4 separate regions of the Homo sapiens genome follow, and regions 1, 2 and 4 are each linked to region 3. The links are contacts of gene promoters, found by promoter capture Hi-C in blood cells and fetal thymus (Javierre and others, 2016). All regions are on one chromosome and are shown on one strand. Each heading gives the region's core, a stretch centred on a gene start or on the middle of the fragment in contact. The rest is flanking DNA. Distances are from core to core; before and after follow the strand shown.

The links. Contacts are between HindIII fragments. The CHiCAGO score rates a contact against its expected background, and 5 or more counts as called.
Region 1: a contact is called between a fragment that was not itself captured here and the fragment with the promoter of SLC25A3 in region 3, in 1 of 17 cell types (total B cells). The highest score is 5.1, in total B cells.
Region 2: a contact is called between the fragment with the promoter of RAN here and the fragment with the promoter of SLC25A3 in region 3, in 1 of 17 cell types (naive CD8 T cells). The highest score is 6.8, in naive CD8 T cells.
Region 4: a fragment that was not itself captured here is called in contact with the fragment with the promoter of SLC25A3 in region 3 in 1 of 17 cell types (total CD8 T cells); the score reaches 8.2 in total CD8 T cells.

The regions. Positions count from the first base shown.
Region 1 is chr12:21,507,720-21,510,980 of GRCh38, forward strand. GOLT1B (golgi transport 1B) reads left to right here. Exons shown (of 5, transcript NM_016072.5): 3 at 664-842. Among named protein-coding and RNA genes, the nearest start is that of GOLT1B, 7.6 kb to the left of the region's middle. The HindIII fragment of the contact is 2,804 bases long and covers 1-2,744 here.
Region 2 is chr12:130,870,538-130,873,529 of GRCh38, forward strand. It overlaps RAN (RAN, member RAS oncogene family), which reads left to right and starts at 1,529. Exons shown (of 7, transcript NM_006325.5): 1 at 1,529-1,589; 2 at 2,047-2,092; 3 at 2,299-2,383; 4 at 2,466-2,591. The coding sequence starts at 2,057. RefSeq lists enhancers at 569-1,330, 754-833, 1,331-2,092 and silencers at 1,114-1,573, 1,644-1,783, 1,834-2,043. The HindIII fragment of the contact is 6,850 bases long and covers 462-2,992 here.
Region 3 is chr12:98,591,813-98,595,060 of GRCh38, forward strand. It overlaps SLC25A3 (solute carrier family 25 member 3), which reads left to right and starts at 1,874. Exons shown (of 8, transcript NM_002635.4): 1 at 1,874-1,928; 2 at 2,163-2,323. The coding sequence starts at 2,167. RefSeq lists enhancers at 1,396-1,615, 1,664-2,288, 1,866-1,965, 2,289-2,913. The HindIII fragment of the contact is 3,126 bases long and covers 1,174-3,248 here.
Region 4 is chr12:25,051,088-25,054,234 of GRCh38, forward strand. It overlaps IRAG2 (inositol 1,4,5-triphosphate receptor associated 2), which reads left to right and starts at 1,619. Exons shown (of 22, transcript NM_001366544.2): 1 at 1,619-1,869. RefSeq lists enhancers at 974-1,083, 1,124-1,493. The HindIII fragment of the contact is 1,768 bases long and covers 963-2,730 here.

The DNA of each region.
Region 1 (3,261 bases), core at 93-2,592, about 77 Mb before region 3:
TGGGGAGGGCAAGTATTTGGAAAGAAAACCTGGGGAAAGCAAGCTCTTAATCCATCACCATTTCTTGTCCACAGAATACATTCAAAATATTTGAAAACACATGGTTGTATTTTTATTTCTGCTGCCACCAGATATTCTAGAATTTATAAAACTAGAATCTTCTTGGCTTCACGTTGTTTCTTCTGCTATCAACTTAGCCATGTCAATATTTCTCCCATCCATAGAAACTCCTGTAGCCTATGATGAATATTTCAGAACCAAGAGGAATACCCTTGGGTGACATATTTATGGGCAGCTTTCCTCTTTATGCCTTGCCAACTCATCTGCTTGACTAAGCCTTCCTCATCCAGCTAAAACTAGGAAAACTACTGCAGACACAGATGCCCCTTGGTAACGTCTAATCTTTCTTTGTTTCTCTTTTTCTCCATTTAATCAAGATAGAAGAGGAATGAGACAAGTGGAACAAAGCTACAACTTTAAAATGCATAACCCACTCCTTGGTTCTGCTGCTTGGTTGTACATTACAGTTCTGTCTGGCCAGTTGCCCACATTAAAAGCCAAACAAATGTGCTTCTTTTTTTATATTTAGCTTTGACTTTACGTTTAAAATTTATGCATTGTGTTTAATTACCTTTTCCGTGTTGTATTTTCTTTCTCTTTTAGGTTTTATTTGTAGCCGGCTTGGCTTTTGTAATTGGTTTAGAAAGAACATTCAGATTCTTCTTCCAAAAACATAAAATGAAAGCTACAGGTTTTTTTCTGGGTGGTGTATTTGTAGTCCTTATTGGTTGGCCTTTGATAGGCATGATCTTCGAAATTTATGGATTTTTTCTCTTGTTCAGGTAAGGCATATTATTGTCTCTTTCAGTAAATCAGTGTGTCAGATAGTTAGTACAAAAACTCAGATATTTGCATCAGTTGGAGTAAGATGATGATCATTTCCTTAAATGGAATTTTATTTAGGTTGAATCTTATAGATTTAGATGAAGCAACTATAAAAATGTTTTATCACATGTGAATGATTGCCTAATGGTATAAATTATCTTGTTTTGTCAGCACAATAAAGTTTATTTTATTGGCATTTTAAGGCACCATCTTTATGTTGGATATTTGTATCAACTAAATAGTGGTAGGTAGGTCGGTCGATCGATCAATCGGTAGGTAGGTAGGTAGATAGATAGATAGATAGATAGATAGATAGATCCAGCATTTTGGTGTGTAGAATCTTATACTTCATAGCTACTGCTACTTGATGGAAATTTATTTAGCACATATACGTATTAGAAGATTGTTTACCAAATACACTACTATGGGAGATTTTGAGCAGGTAATATTTTGTAAATGCCAGTTAGCAGATAAACAATAGTATGTGTATATATCTATATGAAAATACCTTTGGCCAGGTGCGGTGGCTCACACCTGTAATCCCAGCACTTTGGGAGGCCGAGGTGGGCGGATCACCTGAGGTCAGGAGGTCAAGACCAGCCTGGCCAGCATGATGAAACCCCGTCTCTACTAAAAATTCAAAAATTAGCTGGCCATGCTGGCAGGCGCCTGTAATCCTAGCTACTCGGGAGGCTGAGGCAGGCGAATTGTTTGAACCTGGGAGGCGGAAGTTGCAGTGAGCCGATCACACCATTGCACTCCAGCCTAGGCAATAGAGCGAGACTCTGTCTCAAAAAAAAAAAAAAAAAAAAAAAAAAAACAGAAAAGAAAATAACTTTAAGTAGGGTTGAGCTTAATTATTTATTCCAGAAATGCATATCCTTTGTCTTCTGTCTGCCAGGCACTGTATTACCCACAGGAGACATAAAAATAAATTAAGTACCAAATCTGCTTTAGAAAATCTCTCATTTCTATTATGGAAAGTAGACTCTAAAAATACCAATAGGATATAGTCATAATGCCATTATAAATGTGTATGCAGAATATTGTGGAAGCATGATTAAAAAATTAGTAAATTCAAGGAGAGGTGAGAAATGTTAACTGATAAACTGGGCTTTGAAGAATGGGTAAGAATTTATCCTATAAACGAGAAAGGGAACGACAGTTAACAGAAGGAACAGACAGGGCCATAAAAACACACAGCTTGTTCTGAAAAGAATGAATACTCTTATAGAACAGGAGCATGTGATCAGTTGAAGGAAATGGTTGGTAATGAAACTGAAAATGAAGCCTGGAGCCAGGTTACAAACTTTCTTTGATGACTTGTTGAGAAAAGTATACCTTATCCTGTAACCAAATTTGGGCTGGGGGAGCAGTGTTTGGAGAAGGTCGGGGGAGTGGGGCACAGAGGTTTTTAAGCCAGAGGTGGTACAACAGGGTAGATGTTTTAGGAAGGTTGTTCTGATATCAGGATAAAGTAGGTATTAAAGAGAAAAACTGAAGTCAGGGGAGCCAGTCAAGAGGCGGTTAATACAGTACAGAATATACAGTGATAAGACTGGAATCTTGGAGTACTTTTGACATTTTAGGGTAGGTGGAGAAAAAGAAGAAAACACTAGAAGAGACTAGGAAAAGAGGTGGGAGAAGAACTAGGAGTAAAGATCATAGTGGCTAAGAGAGAAAAGAGTGAAGAAGAGTTTGTTTTGGCAGATGTATCTTGCAGCAGAAAACTTAAGCACCTTAAGAAGTAAGAAAATCATTGGCTTTCCCAGTTATGTGGGGGTTTTAGTAATGAAGGTTAAAAGCCAAAGCTGATCTTTGAGATGAATAAAAAATGGGAAGTCTTAGTATCATCGACAAGCTTGGAGTAATACACAGGTTTCGTGGTTTAGAGAGCTTTGTGGTATAAATACTAGTTTTTGTTGTTGGGTTTTGTTGTGTTCTGAGATATTCTGAGCTGGAGATTTAGTGCCAAGGGTCTTTGATGTTGTTTTTCTAGATATTTATAACCCTAAATAATGGCATTTGAAATCACACATTTTTATGTTTTAAAACAATACTTAAAACAAAATAAATGATCTTTTGAATTCATTACTACTAGAAAATGATTGTGATTTTCTTTGAAACACGCACATACACCATCAACATAAATACTTGTCTAATTTAAAAATTCTGCTTTCTGTTTAATTCTTTATTTTGACTTCTGCAGATCCATAACAGAATCTTATTGCTTAACTTCTGAATTGTATTCATTGTAGTATTTTCATCCCTATCTAACTCTGTGAAGAAAACAGCTTTTTTTCTGTACTCGTCTTACCACAATCAACACAGAAGACTGCTGTGACCAAATGGGTGGGGGGTTTTCCCGATATCGCA
Region 2 (2,992 bases), core at 279-2,778, about 32 Mb after region 3:
ATCTATCTAACCCTGTTGAAACAGATGACCGTCATTCCTTTTAAATGTTATACAGTATTAAATGTTGTGCACATGCGTGAGGCATGAGTTTAACTCTGGGGCCTCTCCCTAGAAATGGAAATCCGGGGTCACAAGCAATGGGCATTCCCGTTTTACTGTTAGATTCTGCTCTCCCGCCAGCAGCGTCTGAGAGGTGCTTGGGGTTCCCCTGAGGGTTCTGGGGGAGCTCGGACTTGCGTTCCCAGCAGGCCGGTTGTCGCCTGCTTTGTGCCTAATTTGCGTCACTGGGGTTCCTAGCGGACTCGCCTGCAAGTGTGCTCAGGACTGCAGGGAGGACTCTTCGGTCACTGCGGCTCTCTCCCCATGGTGGACTCTTCTGAGGCGCTTGACTGCGCTGATTTGGGCCTTTATCTGTCTGCATGTCGGCAGGGGCGCCCAGGAAGTCGGGTCCCTCTAGCTCAAGCTTGTTTGGGCTCTTACAGCTTCAGGCCAACAGGGGGCTGGGAAGCTGAGCACTTACTCATTCCGTCCCCGTTGGTAACTAGGGCTGGTAGACGCGTCCAGACTGCAAACAGTATTTCATCATTTTGTCTGTAGCATGCAGCGGCCAAAGCTGCCAACCTATGAAACGCTTTGAGAAGCCGGACGCTTTGGGAGGCCGAGGCGGGTGGATCCCCTGAGGCCAGCCTGGGAGACATAGTTAGATTCTGTCTCTCAAAAAAATTTTTAAAAAATTACCCCTGATGTGGTGCGCGCCTGTAGTCCCAGCTACTCGGGAGGCTGAGGCGGGAGGATCGCCCGAGCCTGAGAGTTCGAGACCAGCCTGGGCAACGTAGCGAGACTCCGTCTCTTAAAAAAAATAAGTAGCCGTTTTTCTGGGTGGGTGCATCCCTCTCTGGTTCCTCGCTCTCCAACTGGCCCTGGTCCTGGGGGCGTGAAGGCTACGATCTGGAGAGACAGAACAGCGGGCTGCCTCTGGAGGACGGGCCTAGACCCCATTCATTCATTCATTCGTTCTGTCACCCACCCGTCCTGCGCGCACGCGAGCCACCCTAAGCCCCAGGACCTCAAGAACCCCCACCCCACGGGGCACAGACAAGGACAGGCTGGCCAGCGCCTGGAAGCCGCGTGCCTGACCACGTCTGCCCGAGCGAGTACCGCCTCCCACCCGGGAGGCAGGAGAGCCGCGACCGTCGGGCCGCGCCCAACGTCTCCCGCTCAGGGGCGCGCCGCCTCGCTTTCAGCGCATGCGCGCCCGGGAGCCCGCCCGGGGCGTCGGCGCACGCGGTCCCCACCGGCCGGCTTGCGTACGCGCTCCCGGCTCGCCCTCCCACGCGGTCCACCGCGCCTCCCGCCCCACCCTAAGCGCAGCGACCGCCCGAGCGGCCGACCGAACCGCGTTGCGTGCGTGCGCGCACGCGCGGGCCACGTGGGCGGGCGCCGCGCCGTTGCCCCGCCCCTTGCAACCCCGCCCCGCGCCGGCCCCGCCCCTGCTCTCGCGCCGGCGTCGGCTGCGTCTCCGGCGTTTGAATTGCGCTTCCGCCATCTTTCCAGCCTCAGTCGGACGGGCGCGGAGACGCTTCTGGAAGGTATCGCGACCCGGCGGGCCCGGCACGGCCGGGCGGGGACAGGGGTGGCGGCGGCGGGATAGGGGTCGGAGCCGGGGCCAGGGCCGGGGCGGGTGGCGGACCCAGGGGCAGCGGGCGGCTGAGTAGGTGGGTGGTGCGGGCCCGGCCGGGCCGGGGCAGGAGACGGGCGTGGGGTCGGCGCTAGCCCCCGCGAACCCCCGTTTCATCCTCCGCTCTCATCCCCGTCCCGGTCCCAGTCCCGTTCCCATCCCTACACCTCCGGCCGCCGTTCCCCGGGCCCCGCCGCCCCGGATGCCGGCCCCGCCCGCCGCCTTCCCGCTCCCAGGCCTGGCCGCCATGGCGCCGCGGGCGGGAGGCCTTTGTGGGGCGGGCACGTGGGGCGCTGGGGGCGCGGGAGCGGGGCCGCCATGGGCTGCGGGGCCGCGCGAGCGCTCGCCTCCGTCCTCTGCCTCCGCAGGAACGCCGCGATGGCTGCGCAGGGAGAGCCCCAGGTCCAGTTCAAAGTAGGTAACCCTGCGGGGCGGGAGGCGGCCGAGCCCGACCGCGTGCGACTCGCGGGTCCCTCCTCCTGGGGCCACGATGGCTGTAATGGGGCCCCGCATCCACATTCTTTGTTTTAAGTGAGCCTGTGGTGGTTAAAGTTCCGTGACTCTGGGATCTTGAGAGGTGAAGTGTTTAGGGTTTACTTCCAAAATGTGTTTTTCAACAGCTTGTATTGGTTGGTGATGGTGGTACTGGAAAAACGACCTTCGTGAAACGTCATTTGACTGGTGAATTTGAGAAGAAGTATGTAGGTATGTGCTGGAAAACCTTGCTTGTGGAAATATGTGAGAAATGGGTAAGTTCATCCACTCAATCGCATCGTTTCCGTTTCAGCCACCTTGGGTGTTGAGGTTCATCCCCTAGTGTTCCACACCAACAGAGGACCTATTAAGTTCAATGTATGGGACACAGCCGGCCAGGAGAAATTCGGTGGACTGAGAGATGGCTATTATATCCAAGGTAGGCATTTGTAACTTGCTGAACGGTTTTTGAGAGGTTTTGTGTACTTCAGTCTTCAAGGTTATAGAAAATCAGGTCTGTTCCAACAAATAGTGTCATTTTTGGGTTAAAAAAAGACAAGTGGACTTCGGGGAGTTGACCACCATTTTGGTGGCAGAGAAAATTTTATTAAAGTTGTGTCATTTGCATGCTGTGTCATGCTAGGCATGCTTTAGAAAAAACTATGACTTACACTGGGACTTATAAGTCATATTTAAAACAATAATAGGCTGTTAACAGCAGTTTCAGTATTTGGAAACTTAGGTTCATGTATGTATTTTGGTGTGGTGATCAATGAATGTTTTTACTGTATTAGAAAACAATAAACACCAGATACTAGACCAGAGGAGATAGGAGATCTT
Region 3 (3,248 bases), core at 624-3,123:
TATCTGTCACTACTTCCCTTCCTGTGCCCTCCACTCTGGAATTCTTCCTGGGACTGTAGGACTTTAGTTGGGCCAGAAGGGCTGGGTCTGGGATAGGGTTGCTTAGAGAGTGCCGTGATGCCGCAGCCTCAATGCTAACTTTTGTTTTTTTGTTTTTTTTTTTTTTTGAGACGGAGTCTTGCTCTGTCGCCCAGGCTGGAGTGCAGTGGCATGATCTCGGCTCACTGCAAGCTCTGCCTCCTGGGTTCACGCCATTCTCCTGCCTCAGTCTCCTCAGTAGCTGGGACTACAGGCGCCCGCCACCTCGCCCGGCTAATTTTTTGTATTTTTAGTAGAGACGGGGTTTCACCGTGTTAGCCAGGATGGTCTCGATCTCCTGACCCCGTGATCTGCCCGCCTCGGCCTCCCAAAGTGCTGGGATTACAGGCGTGAGCCACCTCGCCCGGCCAATGCTAACTTTTTTTAGGTAACATCTTCTGTAGACTTTTAGACATTATCTCATTGAGTTCTCATAGACTCTGCAAGGTAAGTATTACTCCCATCCAGAACCAGACACCTGATTTGCAGGGTCCAGTGCAAACTAAAAAAAGCGTGGCCCCTTGTTCATACATGTATTAAGAATTTCAAGCCGGGCATGGTGGCTCAGGCCTGTAATCCCAGCACATTGGGAGGCCGAGGTGGGCGGATCACCTGAGCTCAGGAGTTCGAGACCAGACTGGCCAACGTGACGAAACTCTGTCTCTACTAAAAATAGAAAACTTAGCCGGGCGTGGTTGTGCACGCCTGTAGTCCCAGCTACTCCGGGGGCTGAGACAGGAGAATCGCTTGAACCCGGGAGGCGGAGGTTGCGGTGAGCTGAGATCGCCCCACTGCACTCCAGCCTGGGCGACAGAGCAAGACTCCATCTCAAAAGAAAAAAAAAAAAAATCAAAATGACAGCAGAGCATTAAATGAAGTGTAAGGCCATGTGTGACTGTACCAGTGTGAACCTATGAGGCCAGTCCCACCCCTATCTTACATCTAGGGAACAGGTACACAGAGATGAAGTAAATTCCCAAGGTTACTTTGTCAAGAGCTTGGAAAATATAAGAGTCAGAAGTCTAACAGGTTGAATCCCTATTAAACTCTCCCCAACTAAACTACGCCCCTCCCTGTTGAGCTGAATCTAATGAAAGCTTCCTAAATGTATTAACCACACACACGCACAATCTGCTATCAGTCACTTTCAGTAGTTCATCGCTGTAACATCTCAGGAGTTCAATGTTTCAACGTGTTCTGTAGATTACTGTGATAACGCGGCAAGCTGTCGTAAGACTTCTTGCTGCACATTTCTTTTTAAAATATTCTCCAGGAGTCTGATGAAAAATACAGACATACCTATGTTTAATGTCAATGGATGGAACTTATTTTAAAAAGTACTGTAATGGCAGAAGTTGTGACACAAAGTACTGCAGTGATGTTGTAACTCCAACACCTAAATATATTATCAAGCATTCGCGTTTTGTTTTGTTTTTTAAGTGACTACTAGATACTGTGATTCACTTAAGTGAAGCGAACTGAAGCCCGTGGTCAAGGAGAGACACCTGAAGGTGAAGGGACAAAGCGAGCAGGGTAAGAGCTCGAGCCCGACCCCTCTCAAAAAATATAGACCCGGAACGCGCGCCTGCGCAGAACGAATCCTCCCGCGCACAAGCCGGGCGGAAGAGCTGGGGCGGGCAGGGGCGGGAATAAGGTTGCTAGGAGAACGCGATGACGCTACGGGCTCGGCGCTCTTCTCCACCAATGGGCGACGCGTACTTGCAGTGGCGCGCTGTGTGCGTCACGCCGACGACGCGCGAAGGGCACACATCTTAGGACCCGGAGGACGTCCGGCCTCTGTGAGCCGCAACCTTTCCAAGGGAGTGGTTGTGTGATCGCCATCTTAGGGAGTGAGTGTGGCCGGGCCTTCTCCTGTGGCGGGTGTGGGGAGCGGAGCCCAGAGCTCCTGTGGGGCCGCTGCTTTGGCGGTGGGCCCAGCCGGGAGCAGCCTCTTTCGAAGGCCGCCGTGACCTCTTCAAGGGCGTGGAGACGGGAAGGAAAAGGCCCCGGTTGGGGTTCCAGGGCGCCGGTAACGTTAACCGGCGCCTTGCCTGTCCTCTAACCGTCGCTCCCTCCTCCCCTAGAAAGATGTTCTCGTCCGTGGCGCACCTGGCGCGGGCGAACCCCTTCAACACGCCACATCTGCAGCTGGTGCACGATGGTCTCGGGGACCTCCGCAGCAGCTCCCCAGGGCCCACGGGCCAGCCCCGCCGCCCTCGCAACCTGGCAGCCGCCGCCGTGGAAGGTGAGATCAGACCCTGCCCAATACAGTCGTGTGGTCTACTTGTGGGCCGCCCAGCCTTTGAGGCCTGGACCCGGCTTGGAGGACAGGGAAGGACGAGTCCAGCCCGCTGCACCGTAGGACGGCGCCCAGTTGCTTGCCCTGGGGTATCGGCCTTTTCCACCATAGGCGGGTGTCAGATCCTTGGCCTTCCCTCAAGGGCGTGGAAGCGCTGAGGCCCTGTGTCCCTTCGTGACCTCCGTGTGCCCGAGGGAAGAGAGGCCGTGACTAGCTCTTTCTCCGCCGTGAGCTCGCTTGGTCAGCAAACTAAGTACTGGGTAAACTCTCCTCCCGAAACTACTGACCACCCACAGTTCTACTAACTATATTACCTGTCCTTTGATTTGCCCTTAGTTTTCTTAAAAATAGTCCTTTCCTAAGTTTTATATTTGTCGACGCCAGGTCAGTCATTTTTGCACTTAATTGTATATGAGATAACTAGATGTCCTGTTTTCGTGCGACTGGAGGAGGCAGCTTGCAGCCCTACATAGGCAATAGAAAGGAGATAATTGGTGGGCGTCCCTTTGGTGTGATTATCTCTTGGGATTCTTGGTGGTTGGGCCCAGCTTTAACTTAGTTGTGTGTGTTTTAAATCCTAGTGAAGTATGTACATACAGAGAAACCTGAAAACCGAATTGTAGGAGTCCTAAGAATGTTATCTACCTTGTGCCTGTAAAATCGAAAGATTTTTTTCTTTAAATCATTCATGTGCTTCTGTTGTCTTTAGTATGGATAGAGTCCTTATTTACACTATCTGTCGTTCAGTTTAAAAGTTAAAGCTAACATTATTTGTGTATTAAATGTATTTGACTGCAGGAATTTGTGCGTATCCGTTTTTATGTTACAGGAGTTCTTAAGTGGGGATAGTATTGGTTAGTGGCTGGGATAA
Region 4 (3,147 bases), core at 597-3,096, about 74 Mb before region 3:
CACTTAAAAATTTGTTAAGTGGGTAAATCTCCTGTTAAATGTTCCTGCCACAGTTAAAGAAAAAGAGAGAAAAAGAGAGTGAGAGAGACAACGATAAGCTATTGAAGGACGCTCAGTGGAAAGTGTGGTGATGTAGGCAGTTTTTATTTTTGCTTAGGATTTTGTTTGCTTGTTTACCAGTATGGTAAGCATTCTGTGAGACCATTCTTGCCTCTCATGTGGTCCTTCGTGTAACCAGGGCTGGATTTGTGCCAGTGTGCAGTGGCATTCTGACTAAATGTTAACGTTTGAGAGGCATGCACAAGGCCTACGGCTGACAATGTCTTCCTTGCTGTTTTGCAACTCCCGACATTTATCACCACTTTGAGTTAAGGTCCATATTCAAGTCAGATTGTTTCCAGATAATCATTGAGGTACTGGCATGTAACACACATTAAATAATCTCATCTGCTAACAGAGAGTAAGTGCATTTTTACATGTTTTAGAGATTAGAATTGGATCCAAATGAGGTGTAACGTAATGGCACCATGAGATCTGTGGTGGGGAAGGGTGATGGGGAGAAAAGCTTCAGCAAAAAGAGGACTAAAGTAGAAATATCAACCGCCAGCTTTCATCTGTGCCTGGGGGCGGTCCTTCCTGTGCTCGTGGCACGTGTTTATACTATGATTGACAACCCTTAAGGAGAAAGGCTAAGGTCATGAAACAAAGCTCTCTTTCCTTTTCTTTTCCCTCCCCCTACCTTTACCCCATTCCTTTCTTTTTCTGTAAAAGCTAGCTGTGATGTGTAAATGTTGCACCTGTCACCCTGACCTCATTGTAGAGCCATCTTCTGAGTAACTGGCAACTGGCAACTGATGCTAAGTGCTATGAATGCAGCTGGTGGGAACTGAACACACCAGTGTAAAAGATGAAACTAGAAGTCCTTATCTGTAAAGTGAGGGTGTCAGGCTAAGCGACCAATAAGCTTTGCTTAAGATTTTATATTTGTGAAGCATTTATATGTAAATACTTTCACTTTTTCCTCTGATCTCTAAGGAAGTGGTGTTAAGTTTGAGTTTGTCATAATTTCACAGGGTGACTCTTAGTTGAAATGTCACTGACAGCTTGCGGTTTGGACTTTTTTTTTTTTTTTTTTTTTTAACTCCAGTCAGAAACAACTAGAAGCCATTAAACAACTACAGGAAGATGCTGTCAACCAGGAAGGCATCCTTAGGAAGAGGCTCCAAGAAACCAGCCAACGGCTGGAGGATGTGGAGGAGCAGGTAGGGTGGCTCATGGCTACATTAGATTCAGGGGACATCTCCTCAGATGCCCTGCAAACCATGAAATAAAAATGGAGGAGGAACAACAACAACAAACAAAAAAAAAAAGCAAAGAGGAACTGCAAGTTCAGTCCCTAGCGACTAACAGTGAGCAGAGGAAGTAAAGGGGGAGTTGTAAGAGAGGCGGTATCAACAGCCTGCTGATGAAAGAGGCGACTCTGCAGAAAGAGGCAACTTGACATATCAGGACTTTAACCGCTGTAGAAATAGCTCAGGCATACCAAGCCCATGCAAACACAGAATTGCAGAAGTTCAGGAGAGGCTTATCACTTCCCTGAGAAGAAAAACACATTTTCAGTTTTGCCTGCATCATAAGAGTGAGCACTCCATTGCTTTCTTTCCTGGCCACACTGCTACAATCCAGCACTAACTATCCATGTCCAGGGTAAGGATCGAGATCGAGAAGCCCACACTGCCAGTGAAAAAGCTACGTCTTTACTGCATAAATTAGAGGAAGCAATTTCGGAACAACGGAACCTTCAAACTATAAATACTGAATTATCGAACACTTGCCAGGCACTTCAGCAGAAGACAAGGAAACTGAAGAGTGAGTAGCAAATATTCATTTATGACCCAGTTTTTGTCCACCCTCAGGCGGGGCATAGGACTACAGACATTTTTCTAGATTACAGCTAGGATATTATTCCTGAGTTTATGACAATGAAATGGTTTGAGAAGGCAATATTGTGGGGCTTTCAGAGAGGTTTGCTGAGTGGCTAGGTGCATGCATGGGTTTAACCATTAACTTCCCTTTTTGCCTTTTTATTATAAGCTGGTTTTGTCTGTGGCTGTTTTTTTCTTTTAAAATTAATTAAAACTTCTCAAAATTTCTAAAAGTAAACAAGGAGAAAAATCTAGTATGCATGGTATATTTGAACTTGCAAGTTGTTATATATTATACTCTGATTTTATTAGCTAGTTTTTTTCCTCTCATATGGTAGAAAAGGCCTTGCTCGTCTATTTTCTTTGGAAATTTTAGGGGGTTGGGCAAAATAATTATGAATTCAGTGTATATCAAAATATCAAATGTGTGAAAATTCTTTTAAAGTTTTAATGCATTCTCTACATACATCTACATACATATTTTGCATTTTAAAAATTGGAATATTTGTCATTTTTCTGTATTACCCAAAAGTATATAAACAGTTACCAGAGATTTATGTGAGAAGACAGTTGTCACATTACAGATGTCAGATTAGCTATAAAATTGTTTCATTCTAGAAACCTAATATGGTAAAAATAAACCTTACTTATTTAGCCATTTATCAGACAATTGCTTTTGTTCAGCCAGTTTCTTGTTCTAGCAGTATAAATATTCTTTTTATAGAAAGTTACTTGGTTTGAGAAATAAACATTGTTTATTTGTTAATTGTTATATAATTATAAATAATTATATATTTAATATATAAGCTTAAGGTAGGCTAGAGATGAAAAATTTCAGACTTGTGTTTGTTTTGGATTTATTGTACCCTTTCTACTATTATCTGAGAAAGCTATTTAGGAGTTTAAGAAATAGTCTAGTTTTAAAATAGCAATGGTTTGCCGGACACAGTGGCTCACCCCTGTAATCCCAGCATTTTGGGAGGCCGAGGTGGGCAGATTGCTTGAGCCCAGGAGTTTGAGACCAGCCTGGACAACATGGTGAAACCCTGTCTCTACAAAAATTACAAACAAATAAATAAATAAAACATTAAAATAGCAGTGGTTATTCAACATATTATTGTCATAATTTTTAAACCTTTATTGAATTTGCCAGTTTTCAATATTCTGATTCACTCTGTTAAGCTAGTAAGGCAGTCTTTAAATTACACAGTCTGTGTGTTAT